Regions from separate parts of the Homo sapiens genome. Here regions 1 and 3 are each linked to region 2. Evidence: promoter capture Hi-C in human tissues and cell types (Jung and others, 2019). All regions are on one chromosome and are shown on one strand. Each heading gives the region's core, a stretch centred on a gene start or on the middle of the fragment in contact. The rest is flanking DNA. Distances are from core to core; before and after follow the strand shown. Region 1 has its middle 71 kb from the start of SNTG1. Region 2 holds the start of SNTG1 (syntrophin gamma 1). Region 3 overlaps SNTG1 (syntrophin gamma 1).

Region 1 (3,389 bases), core at 195-2,694, 71 kb before region 2:
CCTTCCTCACCTTCCGTCTGTCAAACTCTTGCCTCGCTACTGATGGGCCTCTCTTCTCCTTTTCCTCACACAATTCTTCTCTGTTCTCTTTACTTCCTTTGTGTTGTTGTTTGCTAATTTCACTCTGCGCTCATATTTGGGCCTTATCTGAAAATGGCTGTGAAGCTTGTCATGGTGCGCCTACTATTGTAATTGGATGCACAGCATGGGTTCTGTTTTTGCCTTTGTTTCACAAAGCAAGGTACAAATGATTGGTTTCTAATGCTATTTTGAAAGTGGTTGATTTTCATCTGAATTAAACTGTGTTTATTTTCAGCTCCATGCTTGTATGTTGGGGGAAGGGCATATGTGTGTGTGGGCATGTGTGTATGTGAGATTCAGAATCAATTCCTACTTTCTCCATAGCATGATACCCATAGCAATTCATTCTTAACAGGGAAGATTACAATTGAGGTCAATCATCCCTTCAAATTTGCTCATAAATACATTCATAGAATGACAATTTTGGATGAAAGGAAATATATAATAAATGAGAATAAAAAAGTATATTGACGATGTGCTTGAAACATTGAAAAAAGAAAAGTCAGTCATTAAAGACTTTTAAAAAATTGCTTGATTAATAATGATTGAGTTTTTATATTTTATCCAGATTTATTAACTTTCATGATACAAAATACTCCTAAGTGATTTCAGAAACTACCAAATATATTTATCCCAAGTCATTCTAGTTTTAAAAATTAATAACTTTTGCATAAATGCTGGACTACAGAGTCCCTATGAACATTGCTCAATGGCTTTTACTATAATTGAAACATGAAAAGTTCCAATCAGTACATTTAATGGTGTTGGACTCTAAAGATTTCTATATGCAAAGAAGTGTGAATTAAAAACAACTGTTAAAGTAATTACAATCTCCTTCAGTGAAACTTTATGGAGTCTCTTTCTGCTACTTCTAGTGAAGCTCCTCATTGGCATACTCTCACTATACAGGTTTTTAATTAAATTATTCCTTGATTATGTTACCCCAATTCCATATTCCTTGTAGACCCAAATTCTTACCCAAAATCCTAGTTGTCATCTCACTAACACAACATGTTTCCTCTTGTCATGGTCCTGTCTTCCTAGCCAAACTGAAGCTGAGCAGCCCTCAGGTCCTGTGTTATCTTGGGAACTGCATCGCTTCTTGAGCTCTCTTTTCTGAGATCACAAATGTCGATTTTCGAAGCAGCTATTTTAATGCTTCACAAATTTACATCTTATACAAAAATGTGTGTGTACAGTAGTGTTGCGGTAAGGAAGACATGAATTACATGGAAACATATCTCCCCAGGCTAATAAAACAACAGTGTCACTAGCTCACGTTTCTGAACATCTTCAAATTTTTTCTCAAGCAAATGATGCAATCATTATTTTTAAATATTTGCATTGAATATTGACGTCGTTTCTCTAGTCTTATCTGTTCTTGAGGCTCGGGATCTGTGCTCTGCTTTTTGCTGAGCTGGTTCTAGGTTTGTATTGATTTATTCATTCCCTTCAGAGTTTCCTTGGAATTTTGTCTTTCACCCTTGGACTCCTATTAACTCTCTTTTCCCAATTATCATGAATGATGTTCCTGTCTACCTATGATCCTTCAGGGATCTGAATTCAAGGGAAACTGGTATAACTTAATGTTGTCCATTAGTTTCTTTGAATTTCTTCATCTTCTCTCATCTTTCTTCAGAAGAATTCAGACTAATATGTATTTTTAATTTATTCTAATGAAATATCTCTTATAGAATTTACTTAGCATTAACCATGATTCAAGCACTGCAATAAATTCTTTGGTAGATATAATTATTCTCCCTTTTGTATGAAGAAACCAAGACTTAGAAATTGAATAATATTTCAAAGTTCATGTAGGTATTAAGGGTTGGAAATAATATGTAAACCTAGGCGTGTGTAATTTTACAACTCAGCTCAAACCACTTATTATATGGCTTCTCATTTTTAGAGATTCTTAATGTTGGAATCGAGAATACTCTAAAAGTGTGATATGTAGCTCTTCCCTGGGAAAATATATTATTTTTTATCATATAAACCATAGTAATTTAATAATACAAACCACAGTAACTTTTATCAAATGAGTAAAAAGAGAATTATACTTTTCTATAATTAAATATTTAGTTAAATATGTATATACTAGTAGGGATATAGCTTCTACATACTGCTTGTCTCCTATCCTCTGGTTTTTGTTTTTCTTTTTAACTTAGGGAGGAGCTGGGCTTATGGTGGATATTGGATATTTGATACAGATACAATCATACTTTTAAAAAATTTTCTTATTGCTTTGTTAGATATTTTAATATAACTATTTTCTATTTTTTACATAAGCATTTTAAAGTTATTCATAATAGCTGTATAACATTCAACCATGTGGATAAACCAAATTCAATTAAAAATTGTTCATATCCTATGTTTAATACGATTCTAATTTTTATATGTTAAAAGATTCCTGTGTTTTTCCTTATAAGTAATGAATTCATTAAGTATCCTTTTTAGAAACTTTTAATTTTATAAGATTTTTTAATAGAAAAGTTGAGAAGGTTCGATATATATCTAGTATATCTAGTATCTCTATCTAGTATATAGAGATATACCTAGTATATCTATACTAGATATACAGAAAGTTTCTGTATGTCTAACATTCAAATCAATTTTGATACATTGTTATTAAGTAAAGTCCATAATCTATTAAGATTTCCTTAGTTTGTACTCAGTGTCTTTTCTTGTTCTAGGGCCCCATCCAGGATTCTGCATTTGATTTAGTTACCGTGACTTCCAGGTTCCTCTTGGTGGCACCACTTTCTCACATATCCCTTATTTTTAATGACCTTGACAGTTTTGAGGAATACTGATCAAGAAATTTGTAAAGTGTTCCTCTGTTAGGATTTATCTGTTTTTCCATTTCAGACTGGGGTTATGGGTTATGGGTTTTTGAATAGGTGAAGCTTGATTTTCATCCATCCTACGAAGGGTATACACCATCAACATGACTGATCTCTGTTGATACTGACCTTGACCACCTGGCTGAGGTAATGTTTGCTAAGATTCTGTGCTGCAAAGTTACTCTTTCCTCTCCTTTTCTATATTGTATTCTTTGACAGAGGTCACTATGTGCAGCCTACACTTCAGGAGTGGGAAGTCATGCTATACCTATGATAGCAACAGGAGACAGAGAAATTCTAGGTAGACAGTGGCAGGTCCCTGGCAAAGCCCCACCTTCAAGCTGAAAAGCCTCACACCATGGCCCAAAGTGAGAACTGACATCCCTGTTTTCCTGCTTGAATGTTGCCTTTTCCAAAACCACTCATGGCCCTGTCTCACCACTCCCATCCTGTGCCTATAAAAAC
Region 2 (3,376 bases), core at 302-2,801:
CTGCTGCAGCAAAATGGCTCAAAGTCCAACCAAAGTCTGGCCTTTTCCTGTGAGTAAATACGCGGCCTGTTTGGTTTTCCGTCCCGAGTGATTCCCGGCTCAGTAACGTTTCTCCTCCAGGGAGCCCACTGGAACTCCACTGGCTGTGCCGCCTCCTCGCCCGTCCCCCGCGCGCGCCGCAGGCCGGTGCTTGGAGAGCGCAATGTCCCCGGGAGGGAAGATCCCCTACCTGGAATGGATGGTTCCAGACCAGCGGGAACGCGCTCTAATCCTTGATGGAAGCAAGCGTGGGAGGAAAGCACAACGTCTAGGACTTCCCTGTAGTGTCAGAACAGGAAGAAGAACCTGAGAAGTCGCCGGGGAAGGGAGGCCAGGAGCAGGCGTCCGGCCCCTTCCCACAGCCCGGGAGAAATTAGTGTTGCGCCCCGCCCCTCCCGGACCCCCGTCCCCACCACACACACCAGCGCCCCTCACCAGTCTTTCTCGAATTTCCTCTCATGTCTATCAATAACCTCCTTGTGCAGAAATCTACACTGCACAAGTTAGGAGTCTGCAAGGGCGGGCGGTGTTACAGTCTCGCTCTTTCCATTTTCCCCTTTTACTCCACATAGTTTCAAAGGTCCACATGGCCCTGGTTTTGACCAGTTTTCCAACAGTTTCAACGTTATGTATTTCAACTTCCCGTCTCAGTTCACTGGCGTCTGCACCCGTTGCCGAGTGTGGGTGGCTGAGCCCTGGGTGACAGCACTCGGGACCACGCACCCATACCCTTCTTTATGCTCGTTGTCAGCCAGTTGCCAAGAGCGGGAGTGAAGAGCCTGCAAGGCCCGGGAGAGCGCGGATTCCGGAGTAGGGAGGCGAGGGGGCAGCGTGGGAGACCAGAGGGAAAATGGGCTGAAAAGCCAACAAAAAAAACAACGTAAATTGGGCTTTGCTCTGGCTTTACAAAGGCAGAGATTGTCGAGCCCTCTGACTGTCTTTGTGCCTTCTTTATCCCGTCCTTTGTGAAATAAGCCGTTTTCTGCCCCCACTGCAGGAGCCTAGGCTGTGGGCGACTCGCTAGCACTGCCCTGGGCCTCCAAGCTGCCTGCTCGCTGAGCTCAGCGCTGACACTCACAGGAGCTGCGTTCGCCGGATCCTCTGAGAGGCTCTGCAACGATCCCGATCCAATTCAGCAGCGTTTTAAAAGGTAGCCGAGTGCAGATGCTTTTTCCTGTCTTTTTCATTCTTTCATTCTCTGTCTTTTAAAATTTTAACAATAACCTATCGTTTCCGCGTGGAGGGTCTAAGAATCTTCACTGGGTTTAATTTAGGAATTTCAAATTGGGTTTCTCAAAATTTGAATGTGGTCCCCTTAATTGGTAATCAAGATTGCGGAGTTTTCCAAAATATTCCTTTTCATCTTATGTAATTAAAGATCCACGAGCTTTCCAAAGAAGCTCTGGATTTTCCACGGTACAAATCTATATATTTTTTCTCTCTCTTCCTCTCTCTCTCTCTCTGCCTCTCTCGTGCGTGTATGTGCGCGCCCCTGTGCGTGCGTTTTCTTTCATTTCTGGCATTAGGAAACTCGTGCAGGGCCACTGAAAAGTCAGGGGAGGCTCAGATGTTATTTCCCAGGGATTCCTGTTTTTCCAGAAACGTTGTCACCAAATAAGTATGAGACTGTTAATTTGGAGAAACAATTAGCCCCTACAAAAAAAAAAAAGAAAGAAAAAAGAAAAAAAAAAGAACCGGAGGGGAGAAGGCTAGGGCGGAAGACAAGGAAGCTGCTGCTTGGATTCGCTGGTGGAGGAAAGTGCGACCTGGACCTGCGCTTAGGGGCTCCCGTCCCCTTACTTCAGCACCAGAGGGGATGGACAGCGTCTCCGGACTGAGCTGCAGCCACAGGGACGGAACTACGCTGCCGCCGCCGCTGTCCTTGCCGCCACTGTCGTCGCCACGGGCAGCTGGGCTACTTGCTCCTCGCAGCTAAAAGGCGGTGCCTCCTATTACCCCCTCGCCTCCCGGCCCCCTTCCTTAATGGATGAAAAGTACCCCTCCCTCTACACCTGCTGTACCTAAGGACAGGACTCTGAGGAGTACTCTTGCTCCACAGATTAAACTCTCAGCAGCAACTTCAAGAATCATTTTTCTATAGGGGTCTGGGAGGAATTCTGGAGGAGAGTAAAGTCGAAGTTCTTAGAAGCTCTGAGAAATCATGGGCCGTGCGGTAGGGGTTGAAATGCTCAAAGGTCCACACTTCTTGAAATAAACAGAATGGTCTTGAGTGGATTGCAACTGTTTTGGAAATAGCTTTGTGAAAAGAGGGTGGAGAGCTACTCAAAATTCTACGTTAGAGAGACTGAAAAGACATCTAATTTCATTGCTCGGCAGGTAAGTGATAGCGCTATTATTTTTGTTTTTTAAAATTCTAATGACTTGTCTTATGGTTTAACAGAAAGATCATAAGCAGTGTAATTTTTTCTGGGGTTAACGAGGAGACAAGCAATTTTGTTTTAAAATAATTGTTTCTGGATCATTGTGTGACAAGAAGAATCAAAATAACATACATGTTGCCTTACATAATTACAGTAAACTTTTAGCTGGCCATTTTTCTTATTGCTTATCTAATATCTTTTTGGATCTGGCATATCTTGTTTATTTTTTCCCAAAACTAATGCAATCGTTTGGCAAGATAATTTTGTTGTCTTATGTATGCCATAAAAAGTGATCCTGTCTGTGTTACATAGTATGCAAGACTAAAAAAGTTAAAATAGAGAGGGTTTAACCATGCCCTCTAACATATTTTATATTGTTATAATATACTAAACTATGCATGGGAACAAATACATGTATACATATACACCAGATTTCTCACTCCATGCCAACCTCCAAGTATACCTACACCTGTAGGATCTTACGTAAGGAGACACTCATATTTTTACTTAGCACCCTCTTTCCAGCCTTTGAAAGCTCAAGATTGCTTTCTCAAACCTGATCTGCCAGAAAGCAGAAAATGAGAAGCTTTAGTGTGCCTCTTTAGGAGAGCTGGATTTCAAAATCATTCTAACTTATTAGTTCTGCAAAATACATTTGTCAGTGAAATCCAGAAAGTGATAGGGACCAGTAGGTTCCCGAAAAACCATAAACTTTAAAATGCTAATTAAATCTGTTTTCTGTTGATTCTTATTTCTAGTTTTCCCCTGGAGCTTTAAAATTACAATCTTTCACAGTGACCTTGATAAGCATTCTGCTTTAATAAAAAGGGTTCACTGGGCAAAAGCAGTTACACAAATTTGTAACCCGTGCCTGACATTTCACTAAGAATCCGATCAATTCCAATGAGTACATTCAGTTCAGTGAAGAGTTTTGACTTGCAAGGATGGAATTTTAC
Region 3 (3,661 bases), core at 300-2,799, 110 kb after region 2:
ATGACAACAGTGCCAAGATCATTCAATGGAGAGGGAAAATTCTTGTTAACAAATGTTCCTGGGACAACTGGATATGCAAAGAATGAGTTTTGACCTCTACCTCACACCTTACTCAAAAATCCACACAAAATGGACTGTAGACATGAATGTAAGATCTAAAGTAATAAAACTAGAAAAAGACATAAGAGTAAACGTTCTTGACTATGTGTTAGGCAATGTTTTTGCTGTTGTTGTTTCGCTTTTTACTTATGATATCAAAAGCAAAAAAGATAGATAAAATGGACATTATCAAATTAAAAACTTGTGTATCAAAGAGCACCAAGAAAGTGAGAAAACAATGCATAGAACATAAGAATATGTTAATACATCATATATATGGATCTAGATAAATTAGATAAATGCAAATTAAAGCCACAGTTTTGCTTCACACTCACTAAGATGGTTATAAACAAAGAAACAAAAAATAACAAGTGTTGGCCAAGATGTGGAGACATTGGATCCTTTGTACATTGCTGCTGAAAACTGGTGCAAGCCACTGTGAAAACAATTTGGCAGTTCCTCAAAAAATTAAACATAGAATTGTTATATGATCCAGCAAATCTACTCCTAGGTATATACCCAAGGGAAATAAAATAATATCCTAGCAAAAATAGAGATAGAAAGTAGACTAGAAGTTGACAAAGCTGGGTCTGGGGAAGGGTCAAGGAAAAGAAGAGAAGATGAATGATTGCTAATACGTGTGGGAATTATTTTGTAATTGATGAGAAAGGTCCCAAAATTCTATTACAATAAAGGCTGAACAACACTGTAAATATACTAAGATGGAAGTGAATATTTTAAATGGATGGATTTTATAGTATGTGAAATGTGTCTCAGTAAAGCTGCAGAAAAATTTTCATTGTCTTTCTGATAGATTTGAAGAAAATGATGTAAGTTCTTTTACTTGGTAAGACGTTCAGTCTTGAGAGTGGTTTTCAGGGACAGACTTATAAACAGAAAATACAAACGAGTGTGCATAGGTTCCTGCAATGTATTAAATTACCTTAAGATGGATAAAGAACAGTGTATTAGTTGAGTGAAATCCAAAGAAGCTCTTTTTACACTTCCCCCTTGTTCTTAATAAAGTCTCTTAGTTTATCTTGCTTTCTGTATCTATCTATGAAAAATTTATCTGAACTATTAATGCATCTGTTCATCATACACTCATGTGCCCATTCATTCATGTATCCATGCATGGGTTCTTTCAATTCACTTTAAGAACCTCTTAATTCAAAGAAAGAGACCTGATAAAACTGATTCATACATTCTGTGAAAACATAAACAAAATCAAATAACCCCCCAAAGACACAAGGAAATGTTAAGAGTAGAGAGTAATATGATAATGAGGAAATGACTGTAGGCATATGAGATTGAAATACAATTGTACAAACTAGTGTTTGCATAGCTGTTGTCTATGCTGAGGTCCTGCTGGGTGTGAAACATCATAAGCAGTGCTATCATGCATGTCAAGAGACATAAGAGTGTCCTCTAAACAGAGGTGTTATTTTATCCCACTTGTCAAACTGAGAGGCTGTGAAAATATTGTAATCTTTCCAAAGTTATTAAGACACTAAAACAGATGGCAATTTGACAGCAGAATCCATGACCACTTCTATTGTTAACCTTTAGAAAAAAAATCAGGAACTAATTGAGCCTTTTGTGCCACTATACTCTATCTTCAGCATGGGATTCCCCATTTACATTGTGTATTAAACAGCACCTGGAATGGTTATTTCTTACTGAGCATTGACAAATCTGGAATCCTAAAGGAAAATGTTTTGCTTTGATGTAAAGCTCTTCCCCTCCTCCTCTTTTATCTTGTATTACTTGTTTTTTCATTTAATTAGAGAAGATAACGCTTCCCTCAGTACAGAGTGAATAATAAGCCTTTACTTTCTTGGGATTGGTTTTGACATATTTACACAAGGTCTTAGATGGGAGACACAGACAAGGCTTCCTACACAGCTGCCAGGCTGCTATTCATCTCTCTTTAAAATCATTGGTTTTAATGCAAGCACAGCCAAGCCAAGTTTATTAATTACCTTTGTGAATAGTAAACTTTATATGTACAATGCAATCATTTAGGAGATAATAAAGTTTCAATTGCATTCTCTTTGAAATATATTTTATCTGTAAAATATTTTCTTCTTATAATAATGATTGTCTAATTCATTTAGGCACATCATTAATCTGCATGGATTTTATTGTTGTTTGATTGGTTTTGATACACACACATCTTTTTACAAAGGGGCTATTTATTGGAGAGCAGATGGTGAAAATGCATAGACTACACCCCTGCATAGATTGATGATTTGTAATCTGAGAAGCTATGATAGGGAGGAGAGTGAAAATGCTTTTATTCTCAGGTTATAAATGGACGATCCAATGCACCTTGGATTTTTTACTTTATGTAGGACAAAAAGGCATTATTTACTTATGTAGTTGATATGCCCATGGATTCTAAGAAATCTGATGGGAAAATGAAAAACTCCATTATAAATGGATTCTTCATCCTAATCTAACATTTTAGATATGGGCAATCTAGAGTTTCTCAAATTGCAATCTACAGGCCTGCTACCTCAGAATCCTTTTAGCCATTGATATGACTAGGGGCTACTCTTAATCTACTGTGATGAATATCTTTGGTTGGGCAGAGGAGGTGGCATTTGAACCACAGTTCCAGGTATTGCTTTTGCCCACAAAAGCCTGAGTACTCCTAAGGTTTTTCTGTGGGTGTTCACCAGAGCTAATCCCACTCAATAAAACTGGCTCTGGCAAATTTCCATGATTCCAGAGTTGATTTTCAAATGAAAGAGCTATAAGTTATATCTATAATCTTCCAACATGACTTCCTCAATTGTATCTACATTGTCATTGTTTCTCACCACCTTTATTTGAATCCTGTCAATTTTACTCTTGTTTGTTTTGCTGTCTGTTGTCACAGCTGGTACAGATTCTAGTTTATCCTTTCCAGATTTGAAACTTCTCTTACTTTCTCCCACTAATACCATATATATGGTCAATGGCTCATTTCCTCAAATCCTTGTTAGATTATAATATTTAATTTGATGAATTCATTTCTCCCATGAGTTAATTAAGCTAATGAAATTTTCTGTATGTATTAACTAACATGAGAACTCTGGGAACTCTAGTGGGTCTGGAGGGTCAATCCTGTATCATGGTGCTGATCAGTTATGTGGTTTCATGATCACAAATAACCCTTATCAAGCATCTTCTGCTGGACACTGTATGTGGGGCATGGTGCCCCAAGCCCAAAATCCCAGCATGTTGGGAGCCCAAAGTGGGAGGATCACTTGATCCCCAAGAGTTTGAGACCAGCCTGGGCAACACAGGGAATCCCCATCTCTACAGAAAATATCTTATAAAAATTAGCCAGGCATGGTGGCTTGTGCTTGTAGCCCCAGCTAATTGCAATACTGAGGCAGGAGGCTTGCTTGAGCCTGGGAGATTGAGGCTGCTGTGAGCCAGGATCACACCACTGCACTCCAGCCTGGGTGACACAGTGAGACCCTCTCAAAAAAAAAATAAAAATAAAAATAAAAATAAAAAGAAGAAGAAGAAGAAAAAGAAGGAAAAATGCATAGTTATTTCTTTAAAGACA

What was found. Contacts are between HindIII fragments. The study calls those that stand out against the background at their distance.
Region 1: a fragment that was not itself captured here is called in contact with the fragment with the promoter of SNTG1 in region 2 in 2 of the 25 tissues and cell types used here (liver and mesendoderm cells).
Region 3: a fragment that was not itself captured here is called in contact with the fragment with the promoter of SNTG1 in region 2 in 2 of the 25 tissues and cell types used here (heart left ventricle and ovary).

What each region holds. Positions count from the first base shown.
Region 1 is chr8:49,838,693-49,842,081 of GRCh38, forward strand. No RefSeq gene overlaps it. Among named protein-coding and RNA genes, the nearest start is that of SNTG1, 71 kb to the right of the region's middle. RefSeq lists an enhancer at 3,302-3,389. The HindIII fragment of the contact is 4,606 bases long and covers 1-3,389 here.
Region 2 is chr8:49,909,856-49,913,231 of GRCh38, forward strand. SNTG1 (syntrophin gamma 1) reads left to right here and starts at 1,552. Exons shown (of 19, transcript NM_018967.5): 1 at 1,552-2,376. RefSeq lists an enhancer at 457-1,401. The HindIII fragment of the contact is 7,737 bases long and covers 1-3,376 here.
Region 3 is chr8:50,018,364-50,022,024 of GRCh38, forward strand. All of the region lies in intron 1 of SNTG1 (syntrophin gamma 1), which reads left to right. Among named protein-coding and RNA genes, the nearest start is that of SNTG1, 110 kb to the left of the region's middle. The HindIII fragment of the contact is 8,781 bases long and covers 1-3,661 here.